7 separate regions of the Homo sapiens genome follow, and all the other regions are linked to region 1. The links are contacts of gene promoters, found by promoter capture Hi-C in blood cells and fetal thymus (Javierre and others, 2016). All regions are on one chromosome and are shown on one strand. Each heading gives the region's core, a stretch centred on a gene start or on the middle of the fragment in contact. The rest is flanking DNA. Distances are from core to core; before and after follow the strand shown.

Evidence for each region. The method cuts DNA at HindIII sites, captures the fragments that hold promoters and counts their contacts. A CHiCAGO score of 5 or more calls a contact.
Region 2: a contact is called between a fragment that was not itself captured here and the fragment with the promoter of MMADHC in region 1, in 5 of 17 cell types (non-activated CD4 T cells, naive B cells, naive CD8 T cells and 2 more). The highest score is 6.7, in non-activated CD4 T cells.
Region 3: a contact is called between a fragment that was not itself captured here and the fragment with the promoter of MMADHC in region 1, in 1 of 17 cell types (total B cells). The highest score is 6.1, in total B cells.
Region 4: a contact is called between a fragment that was not itself captured here and the fragment with the promoter of MMADHC in region 1, in 2 of 17 cell types (naive B cells and total B cells). The highest score is 6.1, in naive B cells.
Region 5: a fragment that was not itself captured here is called in contact with the fragment with the promoter of MMADHC in region 1 in 4 of 17 cell types (naive CD4 T cells, total CD8 T cells, non-activated CD4 T cells and 1 more); the score reaches 7.4 in naive CD4 T cells.
Region 6: a contact is called between a fragment that was not itself captured here and the fragment with the promoter of MMADHC in region 1, in 1 of 17 cell types (naive CD8 T cells). The highest score is 6.6, in naive CD8 T cells.
Region 7: a contact is called between a fragment that was not itself captured here and the fragment with the promoter of MMADHC in region 1, in 1 of 17 cell types (total B cells). The highest score is 5.7, in total B cells.

The regions. Positions count from the first base shown.
Region 1 is chr2:149,586,278-149,589,159 of GRCh38, forward strand. It overlaps MMADHC (metabolism of cobalamin associated D), which reads right to left and starts at 1,498. Exons shown (of 8, transcript NM_015702.3): 1 at 1,387-1,498; 2 at 812-872. The coding sequence starts at 820. It overlaps MMADHC-DT (MMADHC divergent transcript), which reads left to right and starts at 1,081. Exons shown (of 3, transcript NR_110240.1): 1 at 1,081-1,573. RefSeq lists enhancers at 709-1,908, 1,225-1,544. The HindIII fragment of the contact is 5,011 bases long and covers 1,217-2,882 here.
Region 2 is chr2:152,169,420-152,172,301 of GRCh38, forward strand. All of the region lies in intron 1 of STAM2 (signal transducing adaptor molecule 2), which reads right to left. Among named protein-coding and RNA genes, the nearest start is that of STAM2, 4.9 kb to the right of the region's middle. The HindIII fragment of the contact is 4,391 bases long and covers 1-2,882 here.
Region 3 is chr2:152,038,265-152,041,146 of GRCh38, forward strand. The region is part of intron 2 of CACNB4 (calcium voltage-gated channel auxiliary subunit beta 4); the gene reads right to left. Among named protein-coding and RNA genes, the nearest start is that of CACNB4, 59 kb to the right of the region's middle. The HindIII fragment of the contact is 4,970 bases long and covers 1-2,882 here.
Region 4 is chr2:152,019,826-152,022,707 of GRCh38, forward strand. All of the region lies in intron 2 of CACNB4 (calcium voltage-gated channel auxiliary subunit beta 4), which reads right to left. Among named protein-coding and RNA genes, the nearest start is that of CACNB4, 78 kb to the right of the region's middle. The HindIII fragment of the contact is 8,232 bases long and covers 1-2,882 here.
Region 5 is chr2:151,836,136-151,839,017 of GRCh38, forward strand. It overlaps CACNB4 (calcium voltage-gated channel auxiliary subunit beta 4), which reads right to left. Exons shown (of 14, transcript NM_000726.5): 14 at 1-2,882. Among named protein-coding and RNA genes, the nearest start is that of ARL5A, 9.2 kb to the left of the region's middle. The HindIII fragment of the contact is 728 bases long and covers 1,031-1,758 here.
Region 6 is chr2:151,814,632-151,817,513 of GRCh38, forward strand. ARL5A (ARF like GTPase 5A) reads right to left here. Exons shown (of 6, transcript NM_012097.4): 2 at 508-568. Among named protein-coding and RNA genes, the nearest start is that of ARL5A, 12 kb to the right of the region's middle. The HindIII fragment of the contact is 9,623 bases long and covers 1-2,882 here.
Region 7 is chr2:151,775,413-151,778,294 of GRCh38, forward strand. No RefSeq gene overlaps it. Among named protein-coding and RNA genes, the nearest start is that of NEB, 42 kb to the left of the region's middle. The HindIII fragment of the contact is 5,424 bases long and covers 1-2,882 here.

The DNA of each region.
Region 1 (2,882 bases), core at 248-2,747:
TCAACCTTATCTCCCACTTATCTCTTTCATGCAGCTTACATTCAGGTTGGCAGGCAGCAGTCACTTTTCAGTTTTTCAAAGGGGTAGGCGGGTTGGGGAGTTCTTTGAATATACCTTCCTGTCCTTCCCGCTCATATTTTAGACTATACAAATCCCACCTATCTTTCAAACCTCAAGTTAAATGTTTCCCTCATGAAGTGATCCCAAACTCCTCTCCACAAAGACTTGAATCTGCATTGCACCTTCGTGTAGGTTCTAAAAAAAATTATTACTTTATACTTTAATTGTAGCTGTTTTTATATATGTCTTATGACCGCTACATATGAATTCTATAGATAGGATGTGTCTAATCACTGCAAAGTTACAGTCAATAAATATCTCTGGTGTGTGAGAGTATCTCCTATTCTTATTTTGTAGGATTTAGAAGGTCACTTCCAATATGGAAACTGTTTTAAAAAAAAGAAAAAAAGATTAAAAAAACCCTTCAGTTTAGCTAACCCAAAAGCTAAAAAAGGGCCTAAACATAGATTCTAATATTTACTGAAACGCTGTATTTAAAAAATACCGAAAGGGTGCTTGAATTTCCACATCTGTACAAATGAAATTGTATAAATAAGTGTATTTGCAGTGCAAAGAATGCTACCATCTTCAAAGCATAACATAATTTCACACCACTTGCTTCCCTTGACATTTTTGATACATTATATCTAACACTATACCACCCAATGCCATCATAATTAAACCCGTTCTTTCATTCCTAACATTCCCAAACGAGTTTACTATGCTGATTCTTAAGAGATAATTTACTCACATTGGCCATCTCCGCTGGAGAAGATAGTTCGCAAAATAGCTTTCCTTTGGTAAAGTTATTTCTGGGAAAGAACACAACAAAACAGACGAGTGATCGATTAAACTCTAACAACAGACAACTGAGGTAACGTCCACTCTTCGAAGGTGTGTCGTCCACCACGTCAGGACCAAAGTCCAAGCTCTCCCCGTACCCTAAGGAGGCCAGAACTCGCCCCCATGCCAGGCACAGATCCCCCAGCCCGGAGCCGGCAGTGCAGCTCAGAGCCCTTCCGGTTTACAGCCGCGGAAAAACAACTCGGACCAGATCCGGGAGGGGAATGGGGGCTGGGTGGCCAAAATTCAGTCCAGAGGATCGAAGCGGCTGCTTTAACAGAAGTTGGGGCTGCGTAACAACAGCTCCAAGCAAAGCTTCAGGCTGATCGGAAAGATGAGGAAGCAGAAAAGAGACTAAAGACAGACGGACAGGATGGCTGGGGACAACGACAGGGACCCAGTGAAAATACGGGCAATACCGAGGGCTGTAACCCTAACACGGGCAAATTTGGAGGGGCTAACATGGGCGGAAACCATCCGTACCAGTCACCACCACTGTCTCCAGCTGTCCCAGAACCGGACTCTTCCTGCCATCAAAATGGCGGCGGCGACGGCAGCGGTGGTAGCACCTACGCTGGCGGTGAGCAGGCAAAGGAAGTTGCTTCCGAGCGCGTCGAAACGATGATGCGCACGCGCAAAGTAGGCCTACGTGGAGCCGACCTGCCATTGGGTAAACGCAAGGGAGGAGAAAAGGTGGGGCAGGGGTGATTTGGGTGGATGGATAGGAGGGCTTCCGACCTGCGTTAGGCGGGTCAGTTAATCTTCAGTAACTCCTTGATGCGTTTGATAGTCCTCCCAACTTAAGCCTTCCTTACTGCCTCCAGGAGATACAGTCTTCTGTTCTTTTTGTCATAGTTGTTTATTTTTCATGAATCGCTGTTTTTGAGCATAGGGCACTTACCTCTTTCTGTGTCCCCAGCCCTACCACAGTGCCAGGCTCTCAATATGCTCGATAAATATTAGGCGATTGATTTGTAAATCGTGTATCATTTTCATGTATCTAATACTTTTTTAAAAATTGATTAAAGCCCATAAGCCCATATTTTATTCCAGATGTCCTTAGTTTTCGACCTGGTATTCTTTTCCATTCCAGGATCCTGTCCGGAGTACATCACCATGTCTTCCAGGCTCCTCTGGACCGTGACCGTTTCTCAAACTTTCCTTGTTTTTGATAACCTTAATAGTTTTGAAGCGACTTATTGGTCATTTGGTCAAATGTCCTTCAATTGGGTTTTGCCTGTATTTTTCTCATGCATTAACTGAGGTTATGGGTTTTTCTTGAGTTAAGAGGTAAGGTAAAGTGATCTTCTCATCACATCACATCAAGGGTATATACTATCAACATGACTTATTACTGTTGATGCTAACCTTTATCACCATTATTACAGTGTCATACAGAAAAGTTTTATAGTTCTACAAAGATCCCCTTTGTTTCATCTAGTAAGCCCTTCCACCTCCCTATGTAGGGTTTGTCAGGTTTCTCCACTGTGAAGTTACTGTTTTTCTTTTCCTCTCCATACTATACTATTTGGAAGGACATCTCTCTGTGCAGCCCAAACTATAGGAATGGGAAATTGTTATACTCCACCTTTATGAGGACAGAATATCTTCATGAATTATTTGGAATTCTTCTGCATGGGAGATTTGTCTGTACTGCATTTATTTATGTATTCAATCATTTATGTCAGTATGGACTCATGGATATTTATTTTACATTTTGGGTTATAATCCAATACTACTTTATTTTGTTGTTCATATTGGTTCCAGCTTTGGCTATTGAGATTTCCTTTAGTTGGCATTTGTGTCTTTTTGACAAACCCTCCTCGTTTTATGTTTATTGATTTTTTTTCTTGAGCATTTTCTTAATTTCTATAAGTTGCTCCAGGCTCATCTTGTATATTCCCTGCCCCAATCCTAGAATCAGCTGCTTCCCCAAAAAGCCAAGGGTACTTTTAATGGAAAATGATATTAGAAATCAA
Region 2 (2,882 bases), core at 138-2,637, 2.6 Mb after region 1:
GTGCGCGCCACCATGCTCAGCTAATTTTTGTATTTTTTGTAGAGATGGGGTTTCATCATGTTGCCCTGACTGATCTCGAACTCCTGAGATCAAGCAATCCACCAAGTGTTTGGATTGCAGGTGTGAGTCACTGCACCCTGCCATCAATTTTTAAAAAGTAACCCAACAGAATAATAAAAGTAATGAGCAGGCAATTTATAGAAAAAGAAAACAGAATGATGAAGAAACATATGAAAAAATGCTCATCTTCACTGGCAATGAAGTAGAAATAGAAAATGAAATGAAAACAATGTCTTACTTCATATTCATCAGATAGGCATAAATTAGAAAATCTGACAATGCTCAGCATTAGTGAGGATGTGGAACAACAGGAATTTCACTGCTGACAGGAGGGAAATCAACAAACACTTGGAAGGGCAACTTTGCAAGAGCTACACTTTTTTTTTTTTTTTGAGATGGAGTCTCACTCTGTTGCCCCAGCTGGAGTGCAGTGGCACAATCTCCGCCTCCCAGGTTCAAGTGATTCTTCTACCTCAGCCTCCCGAGTAGCTGAGATGACAGGCATTCACCACCACACTCAGCTAAGTTTTGTATTTTCAGTAGAGACACGTTTCATCATGTTGGCCAGGCTGGTCTCAAACTCCTGACCTCAGAAGATTTGTCCACCTCAGCCTCCCAAAGTGCTGGGATTACAGGCATGAGCCACCACACCAGGCCAAGAGCTACACTTCTACTGAAGAATTCCCCTTCAAGACGACAACCTTTAAGAATTTTGCACTCCACTGGGCACAGTGGCTCATATCTGTAATCCCAGCACTTTGGGAGGCCAAGACGGGCGGATCACGAGGTCAGGAGTTCGAGACCAGCCTGGCCAACATGTGAAACCCCGTCTCTACTAAAAATACAAAAAAAAATTACCTGGGCATGGTAGCAGGCGTCTGTAATCCCAGCTACTTGGGAGGCTGAGGCAGGAAAATCATTTGAACCTGGGAGATGGAGGTTGCAGCGAGCTGAGATCGCGCCACTGCACTCCAGCCTGGGTGACAGGGCAAGACTCCGTCTCAAAAAAAAAAAAAAAAGAATCTTGCACCCATAAACACAAGAAAACATAGATAAAAACTTTCAATACAGAGCTGTCTGTAGGTGCAAGAAATTGAAAACAAAGTCATGTTCGTCAATAGGACAACAGATAATGCATATTCATATAGTAGTATAGTATCACGCAGCCATTAAAATTTATAACCTAGAGCTACAAACATCAACATGAATAACTCTCACGAAGAAATGCTGAATGGGCCAGGCACGGTGGCTCACGCCTGTAATCCCAGCACTTTGGGAGGCCAAGGCAGGCAGATCACCTAAGGTCAGGAGTTCGAAACTGGCATGGCCAACATGGCGAAATCCCATCTCTGCTAAAAAATGCAAAATTAGCCGAGCATGGTGGTGCGCACCTGTAACCCCAGCTACTCGGGAGGCTGAGGCACAAGAATTGCTTGAACCTGGGAAGCAGAGGTTGCAGTGAGCTGAGATTACACCACTGCACTCCAGCCTGGGCGACAGAGCAAGACTCCGTCTCAAAAAAGAAGAAATGCTGGATGACAAAAGTTGCAGAATGACAAAAAGACACCATTTTTAAGAAGTTTAAAAACATCCAAACAATATATAGTATATTTGTAAGTGTAGTATTATACTATTAAAGAGAATTTCTATCTATTTATAGAGTGTTTAACTCGGAGAAAGGAGGAAGAATGGGATCAGGTAGCTGCTAAAAATACTAAAGTATTTCACTGCATCTTGAATGTTCCTTTCTTAAAAAAAAAGAATCAAGTATATCAAAATATTAGCACTTGACATAATTGCCTGGCAGGAATGGGAGTTCATATTTTCTATTTTATGCTGAAAATATTTCATAGTTTAAAAAGCTACAAAATATATTAGAAAAAAAACTGGCTGTTAAGTCTACTATTCTTATTCAAAACCAAAAAACTTTTTAAAAAAATTTTTACTTTTACAAAGATTTTAACTTATTGTACAAAGAGTGGCCTAGTTAAGTAAATGTTATAAATTTGTGTGTATGTTATGAATTTATATTATTCTTATGCTATCAATATCTATTTTTATATTGGGATTTCTTATAAAATTTCACTGGAGAAAAGGACTGCATGACTGCATTTCACTGGAGAAAGTCCCAAGCTACTTCCTGGTCAACTTCTTCTAACACAGCAAAAGTCAGAAACACAGCAATACACACATTAAAATGTCACTTGGAAATGTATTCTCTTAAAAGCTAACAATTCAAACCACTGCGTCCACAGAGTTTTGTAGAGGTAGAATTTGAGCTCAGCTTTGTGGGACACAAGCGTATCTTTAAAGGAAATACCAAGGTTGAAAAGAGCAAACATTTAGCAATGAATGGTAAATAGCACAGAGGCAGAAAACTGGCAAGAAAGATTGCCTGGCTTGAGTAAAGGGAAAAAAGATATGCAAACAAGAACCGGAGTTAAGGCTTAGAACAGACAAGTCATGACTTGGAAATCAATGAATAAGGAAATGACATCTTCTCTGTTAACACTAACCACTGTGGCCCCGTCCCCCATGTTTCACTTTCCCCTTGGAATTCTACAAGAATGGCTACTCCAACCAGGCTCTACCTCAAGATCCCTGTACCCCTCTAACACTTGAGGCCCAGCTGGGGAGAAGAGGTGGGACCTAAGGATATTTTCTTTTTTCCCCTCAGAACACATCAAAGAAATCTTATTAAACAAAACAAAAAAATGAATCTAGATAAAATGTTTAAAGAGTTCTAACACTACCAAATCTAGTATATCCTTCAGGGCTTGTAGGTTCTGATGCCAAGAAAAGACAGGAATTTGCCAGAGTTC
Region 3 (2,882 bases), core at 157-2,656, 2.5 Mb after region 1:
AACTCTCACACCAGAGTGTGCACAAGTTGCTGAGAACCACGCAACAGCCCTCCCCGGCCTTTTCCAAGTTCTGCTGCTTGCCTTTGGCCTAATGAGCCAAATTCAGACTGTATATCCCCAATGCAGCTTCTACTGACAGACAAGGGTTTGGCAAGAAGCTGGAATGCAGCTTGATTGCAGATAATGAATGTGTTCAGCAGAGATGATGAGCACCTGGGACACAGGCTTCTACCTCAGCACCGAGTCTGGCTGGGAGATGGAAGAGGATAGGTGTGCGTGAGCAGCTGGAGGCACAGAAGAGGAAAGGCCCACTACTCTGCTGCAGCCTGCTGGCTCGTATAACAGCTCATTAACAGCAGAGGCTGAGACTTCCTTTTCCTCTTTCCACAAAAGACATGGCAATAAAAGCAGGACAGGCTGCAAACTCAGCCATTTTCAAAGACTCATGGCATGTGAGATTGGGAGGAGGGTGACCAGCTGTGGCCACACAGATGGGGACAGAGGCCCTGACTGGTGCTAGGACACGTTAGTGGTGGAGAGGGACAGTTCCCTCAGGCCTTCCACCTCCCAGCCCAGGACACTCTGGACAGGAAATCTCCCCCTCTCTTCCCAGCCCTGTATGTCCCCACCCCAAGAGGGTGTGACACTTCCTCATGTTCCCTGCTGGCCCATTGGCTAGAGCTCTGGACGGATATAGAGGAAAGATAATACAGTAATTCAGAACTGAGGTCATTGCTTGCTTAGTTAATATAGGGATAATTAAACAGCATTTAAAGAAAATGGTTTAGCTGTATAAGCAAACATTTCCTTGTATTTAAAAAAAAGCAAGAAACATAGTTTTCTGAGGTCTCTACTTAAGAATCTTATTATTGGGCCGAGCGCGGTGGCTCACACCTGTAATCCCAGCACTCTGGGAGGCCGAGGCCGATGGATCACGAGGTCAGGAGTTCAAGACCAGACTGGCCAAGATGGTGAAACCCCATCTCTACTAAAAATACAAAAATTAGCCAGGTGTGGTGGTGGGTGCCTGTAATCCTAGCTACTCGGGAGGCTGAGGCAGAGAACTGCTTGAACCCGGGAGGCGGAGGTTGCAGTGAGCTGAGATCTCGACACTGCACTCCAGCCTGGGCGACAGAGCAAGACTCTGTCTCAAAAAAAAAAAAAAGAATCTTACTATTCCCTCAATGCTGAACCCAAACCTTCCCCTGACCAGTCTTTTGGAGGAAGCCTACACTTCTCCTACTCTGTTCACTTGCCAAGCAGCATATGGAGCCCTAGAATATTCTTGTTTTCATATAGGTTTTATCTTACATTTCCAACTACATTATTTGTTCTATGAGGATAAGAGCCTTGTTATATGCTCTATGTCTTAATGAAAACATCTGATAAAACATGAGTGATCACTCTGTGCATGGCAGGCAGGCAAGGCAAGGGAGTAGGGTGGGACCAAGCACTGATCACAGAAATGCAGGTATTCCTTCCAACCCTGGAAAAGTAGAGCGAAGCTCAGGGAAAACTACGTAAGTCCTCAGAAACATAGTCGAAGGCATGAAGTAAGCACTGAAGCAGACCATATGGAAAATAACATCTATTTTTCAAAAGAATTTAAAATAGAGAATGCAGAAAAAAAGAAGAAGTTTATGGCAATATGATTCTTGTGTACACCGAAGACATAATTTGTTGACAAAGATTAAAGTCACTTAATGGTCTTAAGGCAATGAGTATACTTTATATCCAAAAAGAATAAGAATTTTAATTCCACCTTCTATTTCTACAAAAATTGTACTGGCTGATAAGTGATGGCCCCCAGTTTTCATTGCGGCTAAATGGGAATGTCTCATTTATGGGCTATTCTGAATAAATTAGCTGGGAGTTTTTTTAAGTATCAAAAATACCAAGAGGTCTAACCCATATACTAGTTAAAAAGTAGAATTTTATACATCTGCTGAATCTGAAGGCTCATGATTCTCCTATCTCACAGTATTTAACTCCTACATTTTATAAAGAATTCAATGACATCTAGAATCTTTAAATTTATAAATATCTATCATTAAATCTGGCTCAGATAATAATTGAACCAAAGCATATAATGCCATGTCTATTCATGCCCTCACATTTCACTGATACTTTCTTCAGCTAATTAATTTTATTTATCTATTTGTATTATTTTATTTTATTTATTCATTTATTTTTTTGAGACACAGTCTTGCTCTGTCACCCAGGCTGGAGTGCAGTGGCACATTCTCGGCTCACTGCAACCTCCGCCCCCTGGGTTCAAGTGATTCTACTGCCTCAGCTTCCTGAGTAACTGGAATTACAGGCGCACACCACCATGCCCAGCTAATTTTTGTATTTTTAGTAGAGACGAGGTTTCACCATGTTGACCAGGCTGGTTTGAACTCCTGACCTCAGGTGATACACTCGCCTCGGCCTCCCAAAGTGCTAGGATTACAGGCGTGAGCCACCGTTTCCAGCCAGCTAATTAAATTTAAAAAGAAGTTTTCAAGATTAGCAAAACCTTTACAACTCATCTAACAATGTAGTCCTTTGTTCACATCTAAATGCATATGCTGCCGGTGCCAAATGATGGTGATTAACCCCTGGCTGATATTTTCTGTGAAACAAATTGGTATTTTCAAGACAATTTCCTAGTGAGAAAATGTCCACATAAACAAAATTGCATTTTGATCAAATCCCCATGTTGGTCATCTTGGCAAAGCCCTCAAAGACCATGGCAAAACAGCCACGACTGCATCGCCTGACCTCAGCCTTTTGGGCCCTTTGGGAGCAGACTCCCCACACTCCATGGGAGAAACACCATTAGGCCATTAGGATTTCAACCTCGGATAAAGCTCTTCCTCCTGTTTCTCCCCACAAACTTT
Region 4 (2,882 bases), core at 137-2,636, 2.4 Mb after region 1:
TTATTCTGGAAATGTCAAACAACTCACACAACTGAGACAGGCAGGAGGACTGTGCAGTGGGTATATGGGCAAGTCAGCTGTACCTATGGTTGCCAAAAGAGGAAGAGGAATCTTTAGATTGAGAGGCAGTCAGAATGAGAGTGAGAGGGCAAAGAAGGCCCAGAAGCAGATGAAGCTCTTAAAAACTCAAGGAAAAACCACTGTGTTTCTATGCCTCCACTTCCAGGATTTTCACCCTGCAGCCTATGTGTACATTCCCAAATCAATGTCTCTGGAACCTAGAGATCCTGGTCCAGTCCTGTTTATTGTGGGCTCTACCCTTTAGGGAAAGGAGAGCCTTTGCAGACTAAGAAGTACCCAACAGCATCGATTTGAGATGCTGGGGCCATGACAGTTTAATTGAAAGAGGCTATCAGGCATTTCTATGTCCATTTGGGTTTTGATGGGATCAAGATGGTGGGTGGCATTCTTCCCCTATTCTTCCAGGATTTCTCCCATTAATGGCTCCTGGGTGAGAACTGGATAAGTGCCATTCTCTAAAGGCTTCCAATTTGGCAATGAAGTTGTGATGATGCTTCAGAGAGCATTTCAGTATAGGGTGAGGGGGCAAGAAGCCAGGTGCTCCTGTCTGAGAAGTGAATTGGACGTGAGGAAATAAAGGAAATGGGTAGAAGATTTCTCTTTTGTGATGTCTGATGATAAAGAAAGAAAAGAAAGATCCAGCAGTAGTTTGAGAAGGAAATTGTGGGGAGTTAGTAGGTTTTTGTGTTTACTATTCTTTTGATTTCAGAATGGGATGTACTTTGGTGCCATGAAGCCAAAGGAGAAGTTCTCAGAGGACAGGGAAAGACTGAAGTTGAAGAGCATAACCAACAGTGATAATTAACAGGTGGCGATGCTGGTAACGGGGTTAGAATTGAGAGCACACCCAGAGGAGGAAGCCGGGGAAAGGAAAGCACAAGGCATTCCCTTGTCTGAAACACTGCTGGAAGCAGGCAAAAACCTAACCTCGGGCACCTAAATTGTGCTTTACATAAATGTAAATATTTAATATCCTCCACCTGCATTCAAGGCTTATCCCCAAAATCAACGCTTAAAATAACTCGGAAACTACTAGCACAGAGACTGAAGAAAAAAATAACTCTAGCTGGGTGCGGTGGTTCACACCTGTAATCCCAGCACTTTGGGAGGCTGAGGCGGGTGGATCACGAGGTCAGGAGATTGAGACCATCCTGGCCAACGTGGTGAAACCCCGTTTCTACTAAAATACACCACACCAGGTGTGGTGGCGAGCGCCTGTAGTCCCAGCTATTCTGGAGGCCGAGGCAGGGGAATCGCTTGAACCCGGGAGGCGGAGGTTGCAGTGAGCAGAGATTGCATCACTGCGCTCCAGCCTGGTGACACAGCAAGACTCCATCTCAAAATAAATAAATACATAACTCTGAAACATTAAAACAATTTTTTTTCAAACTATATTCTCTACCTTATATTTAAGCAAGCAGAAAAACACATAATCCATTTTAGAATGATTTCAAATTTAAAAAAATTATAGGTCAGATACTCAAAGGGTTAAAACTTCAAATAAGGAGTAATGTTACCCTTCTGGCAGCCAAAGTTTGACTCAATAAAAACAGGCATATTCATTGCATCAACCCATAATCTCTTAACATTTGATTTGCCTCAAAATTTCAGTAGACTATTGGTGAAAACATGGTGAAAAATCTCTTCATATGAAAATATTTTGCTTTTGAAAATACTGTCAAAACTTGCATAAATATTTGACATTCATTCTAAATAATAAAACAATGTCTCTTTTTCCCCTTCTCATACGTATGTAAATCAATGATGCTTTATCAAGGATAAAAATACCATTAGATTTAGACTTCACAGAATTGGAGACAACTCACAAGGAACTAGACACTGAATCTTAAACATGAAAGGAAGAAAACTGAAAAGCTAAAAGTAATTTGATGTTTCTTTTTTTCTTTCTTAATTCAACTCTCACATCTAACTCTTAAGAAAGGATACAGCTTATTCTTTTATCTTGCTGAACATTGGCTTTTTACGTTTTATCTTCTTCTTGAAAAGATTTTCTCTACTAGAATAGGTATTTAAAGTCAAGGCTATATACATTCAAGAAGTATAAGCGTCTAATCTTTAAACATGTCATTTTGATCCAGCATCCAAAGTTGTATTAAAAAGCACATTTACAGATAAGTTCCTTCACAGTTGTAGTGACTGCACATGAGCTCATCAAGTAAGCCTTGGGGAAACAAAGAACCTCTCTCCTCCTCTCTTTGGCAATCGGCTTATTGCCTATTACTTGCATCTCTCCCCTTCAACCACCTCTGCATCATCTTCAACCAAATATACACCACTCAAACTGCTACCCTTAATTTCACTCCTACAAATAAGCCCTGTTTGTTTACTGTTCACCATTCATTATACCATGAGTGAAGGACAGAGATGAATCATACTCAGCCCGTAGCCATCAAGGAGAAGTGGTGGAGGGAATGTGAAACCAATAACTATTTCACAAAGGACACAATCCATGTCTCCAATGATATAAAAGCGAAGTGCTTCAGAGTGCTTTGCAAAAAGCAACTAATTTAGTCAAACACAATATAAAAACATCAGCAGTAATCAAGAATAATCCCTATTGCTACAATTTTTCTAAAATTCCCTGGTTTTAAGTTGGACAAGAAGTGCAATATTCCTTTCAAAGAGATACCAGCATGTCACAGATCTCTATTTTTAAAATATGCTTGATTTGCATATACGAAAGCATGGGCTTTATTTTAATGACCTGCAATCTCTACATTTGTTTCAGTCCTCCATGCAATATGCATGTTTACCTCCTACACTTAGACTCTTGGTATGAT
Region 5 (2,882 bases), core at 145-2,644, 2.2 Mb after region 1:
TGACAAATTGCATTCGTTTTTTTCCAGAACTACATTTCCACATTGTCACATGAGTCCACATTATTATATGTCTGTGACTGAAATTACAGAATTCTAGTATGTGGCTTATACTGTAAGTTAAAACAGCCTCAAAACAGTAAAAGACTTGTTTCTCTTGCTTATAATCATTTGCTATCTTTAAATGAAATTAATTAAAAACAAAGTATGGAGTATGTATTTTTCAAAGGTGCTTGGTGTGCTTGGCAAAAATAAAACTTTTCATTTAGTATATATCTAGATTTTAAGTATCATTTACACAATAAACTCTTAAGTCTTTAAAAAAAATAAGATGTATATCCCCTTATTTGAGGAAGATAAACTTATTACAGAAAGAAGGGGAAAGAATATTCCAAATTAAAGTAAACATTTAAATATATCCATCAATAAAATATACATTATACCCTTTCCAAGATTGTCAGCTTTTGAATAAGAATGCAAAGCAAAACAGGTATGGACATCTGATGGTAATTGATAGATTGGTTTTGTGCACAGATATTGAATGAGACTCTCTTTATCGGCATGACATGGAAGACTAAAAACAAGGCTTTGAAAAACCTTTAAAAACAAGTGACTTTTAAAAAGTTGAAAGAAGATGGTAATCTTGATGACTAGGAAATATATTTAAATGCTGTTACAGCTACCTGCCATAAAATGTAAGTATCTTAAAGTAGTTAAATGACCAAACTGCTAATGCTACTACAGAAAAAGCTGAACAGCTGTCTAGTCTAAATTTGTACACCTTGGTGCACTCTTTGCAATTAAATACTTTAATGCGCATAAACAAGAAACCAGTAAAGCATATAGAAAAATGTTTTGGCTAATGTTTTCTTTCTCATGCAAGTATGTGCTGTACATGTAATAAATATATTTTTGTTTGCTGGAAGATGCTCTTCTGTGTTCTAACAAAGTATTCAGTAATGGCAGGTTATATGTTTATTAAAGTGCCTAATGGATATAACTCTTTTAAAATGTCTTAACTGAAAGTTTTATAAGCTTCACTAGATGACAGAAGAATCTCACAAGCCAGTATCACATGTTAACTTTTAAAATTTACTAAGCCCATATTTTTTAATTGTATCAAATATTTGAAATGACTTACAGAATTATAGGTATCCTCATTATCAGCTAAACAGGTTCATAATGGGGTACAAACACTGAACATAAATGCAGGGGGATGTGGTGAGGTTGTAATGGGGTTCAAGATATATATATAACTCATCAGTAATGTGGAACTTATTTCCATGGTCAAGAAGATTACTGAACTGGTGCATGCTTTGAGTGCCTGAATACTGAAAGGCTTGGGGAGAAAAGAAGATACTATAAAATTAATTATCATTATTTTCAAAAATAGGCTTCATGACATGTACTAGCAGAAAAGAACTTTTATGGCTGGACTTATTGGGGTTTTAGAAAATGCATGCACTATGGACATTTAGAAATAAGTTTTTTTTTTTAAAGACATTTGTGTAAAAAGGGTCAATTTCAATAATTTCTTAGATCAGAGTGAATCTAAGGCTTCCTTGATAATATAAAACATAGGTCACCAATTCCATAATTATAGCCACTGGAAAAACTGTGAAGACTTAATAAGATGAAGAGGAGTGTTCATTAGAAATAAGGCAGCTCAATCTCCAAATTCTTTATAATTTTCTGCATTAAAAATGCTATAATTTTAGTCAACAAATATTTGCTGAATCTATGAGTTTATTTTTTACTGCAAGCTTTTAAAATCATTTGTTTCAACTTTTTTCAATTAGTCATTTTGTAAAAACATCTCCTGAATATCAAAGTTGAGTGTGTCCACATAAAACGAAATTCCTTAGCATGATTTAAAGAATTTGTTGAAGGGCCAGAACATTCAGATATTCAAAGACAGAGACTGAGAGAAGCAATGGAAAGATACTCAATCTTGTTGGCAGGAAATACAGACCCTGCGTTTGTGTTAAGTGAAATAGATGAATTCCCACCTGGAAGTGTTTAGCATTGCACTCGGGAGGATTGGTACCACATCCTTACTATCTGACTTCAGATTCCTGGATGTATGTAGTTGTGCTCAGATTGATTAAAGGGAGAACAACACCCCATTTTATATTTCACATAACCAGCTATGCTTGGGCCTCTCTTTACTATTCTCTCTCACTGCTGAAAAAAATTTGAGGTTTTTTGCTTGTTTGTATTTGTTTTTGCCAACTTCAAATGAGCTAACAGTACTGACCAAACAAAAAGCAAAACACTTTGAATACAACAGCTGTGCCAGGAAAGAAATAAAAATATTAAAATCTGAGGAGACTATATAATTTCTGCATTAAGATTTCTGAGATTTTTTTTTTGGCACTATCAATACATTTGGTAAGTCTGAAAAGTCATTCTGGCAACATTAACATATATTAAAATGTTTATACACTCCAACTTTAAGTGTAAATTTAGCTTCCAGCAAATAAATACCAAAGCTGGATTTGGCTTCTATTGGTATTTCGATTTTCTTATTAGTTTTTTTTTTTTCCCCCCAGATTTTTCAGTTGATTACAACATGCTCAAGTAGACTTTCTAGTCAATTCACCCAAATTCCAACAGGAATTGGTTTATAAATTGGTTCCAACTGGAACTGGTCATTTGGAATTTCCAGCATGGGAAATTATTTTATATGTGCCTTGTAAGTACCCTAAATTACAAATTGATGTGTCTAAATCTATGAAGAAAACAAAATGTACTGTTATCATGTAAATGTTGCACTTAAAAATATCTATATGATCGGGCATCTAATATCCATCTAGACTCAAGGGCATAATGTAATTTTTTTTTTTGCCCCTTACTTAGCATAAAATGACAGCAGCCCATTAGCA
Region 6 (2,882 bases), core at 239-2,738, 2.2 Mb after region 1:
GCCTTGACCTCCTGAATAGGATCAAGCAATCTTCCCACCTCAGTCTCCTGAGTAGCTGGAACTACAGGTGTGCACCACTACATCCAGCTAATTTTAAAATATATATATATTCATATATATCTTATAAAGAGATGGCATCTCACTATGTGACCCAAGCGGTTTCTCAAAGTCCTGGCTTTAAGCGATCCTCCCACCTCTGCCACCCAAAGTGTTGGGATAAAGGCATGAGGCACCGCACCCGGCCATATTTTTCTACTTTCTACAAACAAAAGAGCTTTAGCACAAAACAAGTGGACAACTCAATGCCAACTATATGCTCAATATCATATAAATTTCTTGCTTTCTACTAACTATTGCTGAGATCTGGCTCCAGGTTTATAGCCAACCTGCTTTCTTACAGGGTAACTTAGGTTTCATGTAATTTCTTACTGCATTCATTGATCGACTATCACCCAGGCCAAAAAAGTAACTAGAAATAAAATAATTTTTAAAATAGTTAATACTTACAATTGGTAAAGAATGGTAGTTTTCCCTGCATTATCCAGCCCAACAATGATAACTTTGTGCTCTGAAATAGAGAAAACACCAGTGATTTTTTTTCAAAAAAGGAAAAAAAAAGATTAATTATAGGAAAAAATATACTCTGTATCTCACCCTTCTATCTATGGCATAATTCAGTGCATGGCACTTTATACTTTCTCAGAAGTCAAAAGAACATCCTAGCAAGACCAGCAGAAGTGTGCCATTATACTCACCTTCCCCATCGCCATTATTCTAGAGACAACTCTCATCTTTCCAACCACCTCTCTAGGAAGCCATGGCACTACATTTCCTCTATTCCTAGGCAAGCCTACTCTCAGTAAAGTAGACCAAACATAATCACAATTTACAAATGACTTAAAGTATAAATGTTTCACATTGGATTACATCAATGAGGTTCTAACTGGAACTTAAGGCATCAACTGGGTGCATGTGTGTGGAGTGGAGTGAATGGGAAGGAAAAAGGTCAGTTTTTTAAATGGGTAATCGTAAATTATGAGTACCTTAAAACCACAGGGCCACTGTAACATGAAAAACAAATCTAAGAACCTATGGCTATGGTGGCAGCGACTCCCTCCCCCCATTTGGCTTCTGTGGCACCACTTTCTCCAAGTTTTCTTCCTGTCTCTAGTCATTTATTTTTTTTCAATGACTCCTCTTCCTTGAGTCTTCTCTCAGACATTCACGTTCCCCAGATGTTTTCTTGCACCCTCTTCACATTTCAGCCAGGCATTTGTAAGACCCATCTATTTCCAGCCTGTCCGAAAGCAATTCCCAAAGACAGCACAGCATGTGGTAGAAGCTAGTGTCCAAGATGGCCTCTGGATAGTCATGCCCTTACGTAGCCGCCTCCTCTTGAATCTGGGGTGGCCCTGTGACTTACTTTTAACCCACAGATGCAGCAGAAATGACCAGACGTGATTTCTGAGCCTAAATCATCAGAAACATTGCAGTTGCTGCCTGGCTGTCTTGGACAAGTCCTCCTAGGGTAAGTCAGATACTATACAGCAAGCCCAAGACTGCTGTGCAATTTAATGAGTAAGCCCAAGTTGATCATGTGGTGAGACCCTGTTGAAAGGGATGACCAGTCAGCCCCTATCTCTTCCAGCCATTCTAGCTGAGATGATAGACAGACAAATAAAGAAGCCATCTTGGACGTGCAGCCTGGTTGAACCTACAGAGTACTTTAATTTTAGCTGCTATCTGACTGCAACCAAAGGAGACTCCCCAAGGTAGAACTTCCTAGCTGAGCTTAGTCGACGCGTAAGAAACATGAAAAATAATAAATCATTGCTTTAAGTCATAAAATTAAAGAATAGCTTATTACACAGAAACAGATAACTGAAGGAGATATTAATGGCATTATATGACCTTGAGCAAATGACTTTTATTATTTCTCTGACCTTAAGTTTCTTCATTGTAAGATAGGGGAAATACCACCTATCACTCAGGGTTGTTTAACAATTAAAATAGCACACAGCAGTGCCTAGCACTGAAGAGGAGAGAGTTCTTAACCTGTTTTGCTAGCCCAGAAAAAGATAAAAATTTACTAGAAACTGTACTTCAAAGTTTGAATTTTGATCTTTTCCAAGGCTAGTGATATCTAGTACAACACTCTCAAGACACTGGGCAGTAGCAATAAGCTGCAGCTCCCAGTCGGCCATTCAATAACGAGGGTAAACAACCAATACTGCATAATAGTATACACTGTGCTATCAAATGGTTTTGCCCTACTGGAGGCTAATGTCTGTGTATTGAGCACATTTAAGGTAGGCTAGGCTAAGCTATGATGTTCAGCAGGTTAGGTGTAATAAATGTGTTTTGACTTAAGTTACTTTCAACTTACAACAAGTTTATTGGCACATAACTACATCACAAGTTGAAGGGCATCTATAAACTAAAGTTCAAGTCACTCTCCCTACACAAGCTGCACATATGTTCACAGCAAACATTTCTCTACAGCTACTCATGGTATCACTAAATGTCGGAATTATCCTAATTCTCCATTTAGGGAATTAGACCAATCCTTTAAAGTCTAGCTTTCCATGTAGAATCACTTTCTCCTGCTTTCCCACACTACCTCTACTCTAGCACTTATCCTAATTATTTACATGTGCACTAATCTCCGCTTAATGAGGCATCTTCAACTGTATAGAATACATATTAATCATCTTTACATTTCTAGTGACTACAACTATTCCTGGCATAAAGTAGGTACTCAATAAATGTTGAATTAATATTCATTCTATAAGTAATAAATGTTGAGGATTATAACACCTCAGAGTAAGATCTTTATAATTCAAATGGTAGATGTTTTCCATATAATTGCCACTTACCAGAGG
Region 7 (2,882 bases), core at 264-2,763, 2.2 Mb after region 1:
AATATTACTTAGTGAGGGGCACACATCTAAGTCACTTTTTGTATTGTTTTGTTTTGTTTTGTTTTGGAGACAAGGTCTCACTCTGTCTCCCAGGCTGGAGTGCAGTGGCATGATCACAGCTCACTGCAGCCATGACCTCCCAGGCCAGTGATCCTCCCACCTTAGCTTCCTGAGTAGCTGGGACAGAGGCATGTACCACCACGCCAGGGTAATTTACTTATTTTTTATTTTTTGCAGAGATGGGGTCTTGCTACGTTGACCAGGCTGGTCTTGAACTCCTGGCCTCCCAAATTGCTGGGATTACAAGCATGAGCCATGATGCCTGGCCCCTAAAAGTCACTTTTAAGGAGACAGTTTCCTACCCAGAAACCTGGGACAAACTCATTTCAGTAGACAGCCCAGTTGGCTAGTACCAACATCCCAATGGAAAGCATGCTAGCCACAAATTAGCCAAAGAAAGTATTATCGGAAGAAAAAAATTACATTACATATTGCTAGCGTCTGAATATGTCCCCCCAAATTCATATGTTGAAACATAATTACCAATGTGATAGTGTTGAGAGGTGAGGCCTTCAGGAAGTAATCAAGTCATAAGGGCAGTGCCCTCACGGATAGGATTAGGGCCCTCATAAAAGGGCTTAAGGGACCAGGCCCTCACCAGACACTGAACCTGCCAGCACCTTGGTCTTGGACTTCCCAGCCTCCAGAACTGTGAGAAATAAATCTTTATTGTTTGTAAATTACCCAGTCTGTGTTAGAATGTTACAGCAGTAAAAAATGGACTAAGACACATACCCTGCCACGACAAATCCCAGAACAGTACTGTCAGTGAAAAGAGCCAAAGTCTGTAAAATATTTGAAGAGTTTTATTTTGAGCCAAATATGAGTGACCATGGCCCACAGCACTGTCTCAAGAGGTCCTGAGAACATGTGCCCAAGGTGGTTGGGTTGCAGCTTGGTTTTATATGTCTTAGGGAGACAAAAGACATCAATCAATACATGTGAGGTATACATTGGTTAAGTCCCAAAAGGCAGGACAATTTGAAGGGTGGGGACTTACAGGTCACAGGTGGATTCAAAGATTTTCTGATTGGCTGAGAGTTAAGTTATTATCTAAAAACCTGGGATCAATAGAAAGGAGTGTCTGGGTTAAGATAAGGGGTTGTGGCTCCAAGGTTCTTACTATGCAGTGAAGCAGGCAGTTTCCAGTAGTCTATAGGTGGCAGGCCTTTCAGACCATAGATGGCAAATGTTTCCTATTCAATCCTTTAAGAGGTGCGAGACTCTCAGTTAATCTCTTCAAGACTGGGAGGACCTGGTAGAGGAAAGACCTAGTTATGTTAATGGAGATTCTTTACAGAGGCAAATTTCCCCCCCAAAAAAACAGCTTTACAGAGCTATTTCTAAATATGGTGATGAAACATATTTTTGGGGTAAAACATTTTGGTTTCCCTCTTCATCTGTCATGTGATGTTATGAGAGTCAAGTTGGAAAGTAATCCATGTTACATAGGGTTAAATAAAATCCATCTTCTGAGACTTTCTGTTTGTACTGTGTGACTTCTCTGACCCCTTAGGTAGGGATTTAGACAAGAGAGAAAAATGGTCAGAGTTTAGTCCTTGGTATGTTTTGGTGTCTGGGTCTTGCTCTGTCAGCCAGACTGGAGTGCAGTGACACAATCATGGCTCAGTGTAGCCTTGACCTCCTGGGCTCAAGTGATCCTCCCACCTCAGCCTCCCAAGTAGCTGGGACTACAGACACATACCACCATACCTGGCTAATTTTAAAATTTTTTTGTAGCAACAAGATTTTTCACTTTGTTGCCCGGGCTGGTCTTGAACTCCTGAGCTCAAGTGCTCCTTCCACCTCAGCCTCCCAAAGTGCTGGGATTACAAGAGTGAGCCACTGTGCCCAGCCTGGTTTGCACTTTGAGATGCTCTGTTGGCAGACTCCTCAGCAAAGCCTGCTGCCTGCTGTGTCTTCCCACTGGTGCAACAAGCCTGTTGCTCTTTGGGTGTCCTCTGCTCTCCTGTCTCTTTGGGGCTCTGGGAGACACAGGCTTTTGCATATTCACCTCACTCCTGGTCCAGTGTCCTTACTCATTCATCATGGGCACTTTAGGTCTTTCTGCTGTTCCAGATGTTAACAGGTGAATGAAGTCTCATAGTCACCGTATCAACCAGTGGGTACGGCAGCTTTCAGAATAAAACTTTCTTTCTCCAATTCTTTGCATTGTGCTATTATCTATCAACTGGCATATATTGAACACTAGGAGGCTCCAGACCTGCCCTGTCCAGTACAGGAGTCATTAGCTACTTTAGGCTATGGAGCACTTGCAAGGCACCTAATACAAATTGAGATGTGCTCTGAATGTAAAATACACGATGGATTTTGAAGACTTAACACAAAAAAAGTAAAATATCTCAATAATTTTTATACTGATTACATGTTGCAGTGGTAACATGTTAGATATATTGGGTAATTAAAATGTATTAGTAAAATTAACTTTATTGTTTCTTATTACGTTTGAATGTAACTACTCAACAATTTAAAATTACATATGTGGCACACATCTTACTTCTATTGGACAGCACTGCCCAGGACATGTTTATTCAAATGTCTGTTGAGTGCCTATGAGGGTTTAGTCACTAAGCCAAGTGCTAGCTGCATGATGGGGCTTATGAAGAAAATCAAAGCCTTTGCCTTCATGAAGACAGATAGTAATGTAAACACCCTGTGGGTTCTTGCCGGCTTCCCAGATAGAGCCAATTTATCAAGGCAGGGGAATTGCAATAGAGAAAGAGTTTACCACTGCACTCCAGCCTGGGTGAAAGAGTGAGACTGTCTCAAAAAAAAAAAAAAAAAAGAGAGAGTTCATTAGA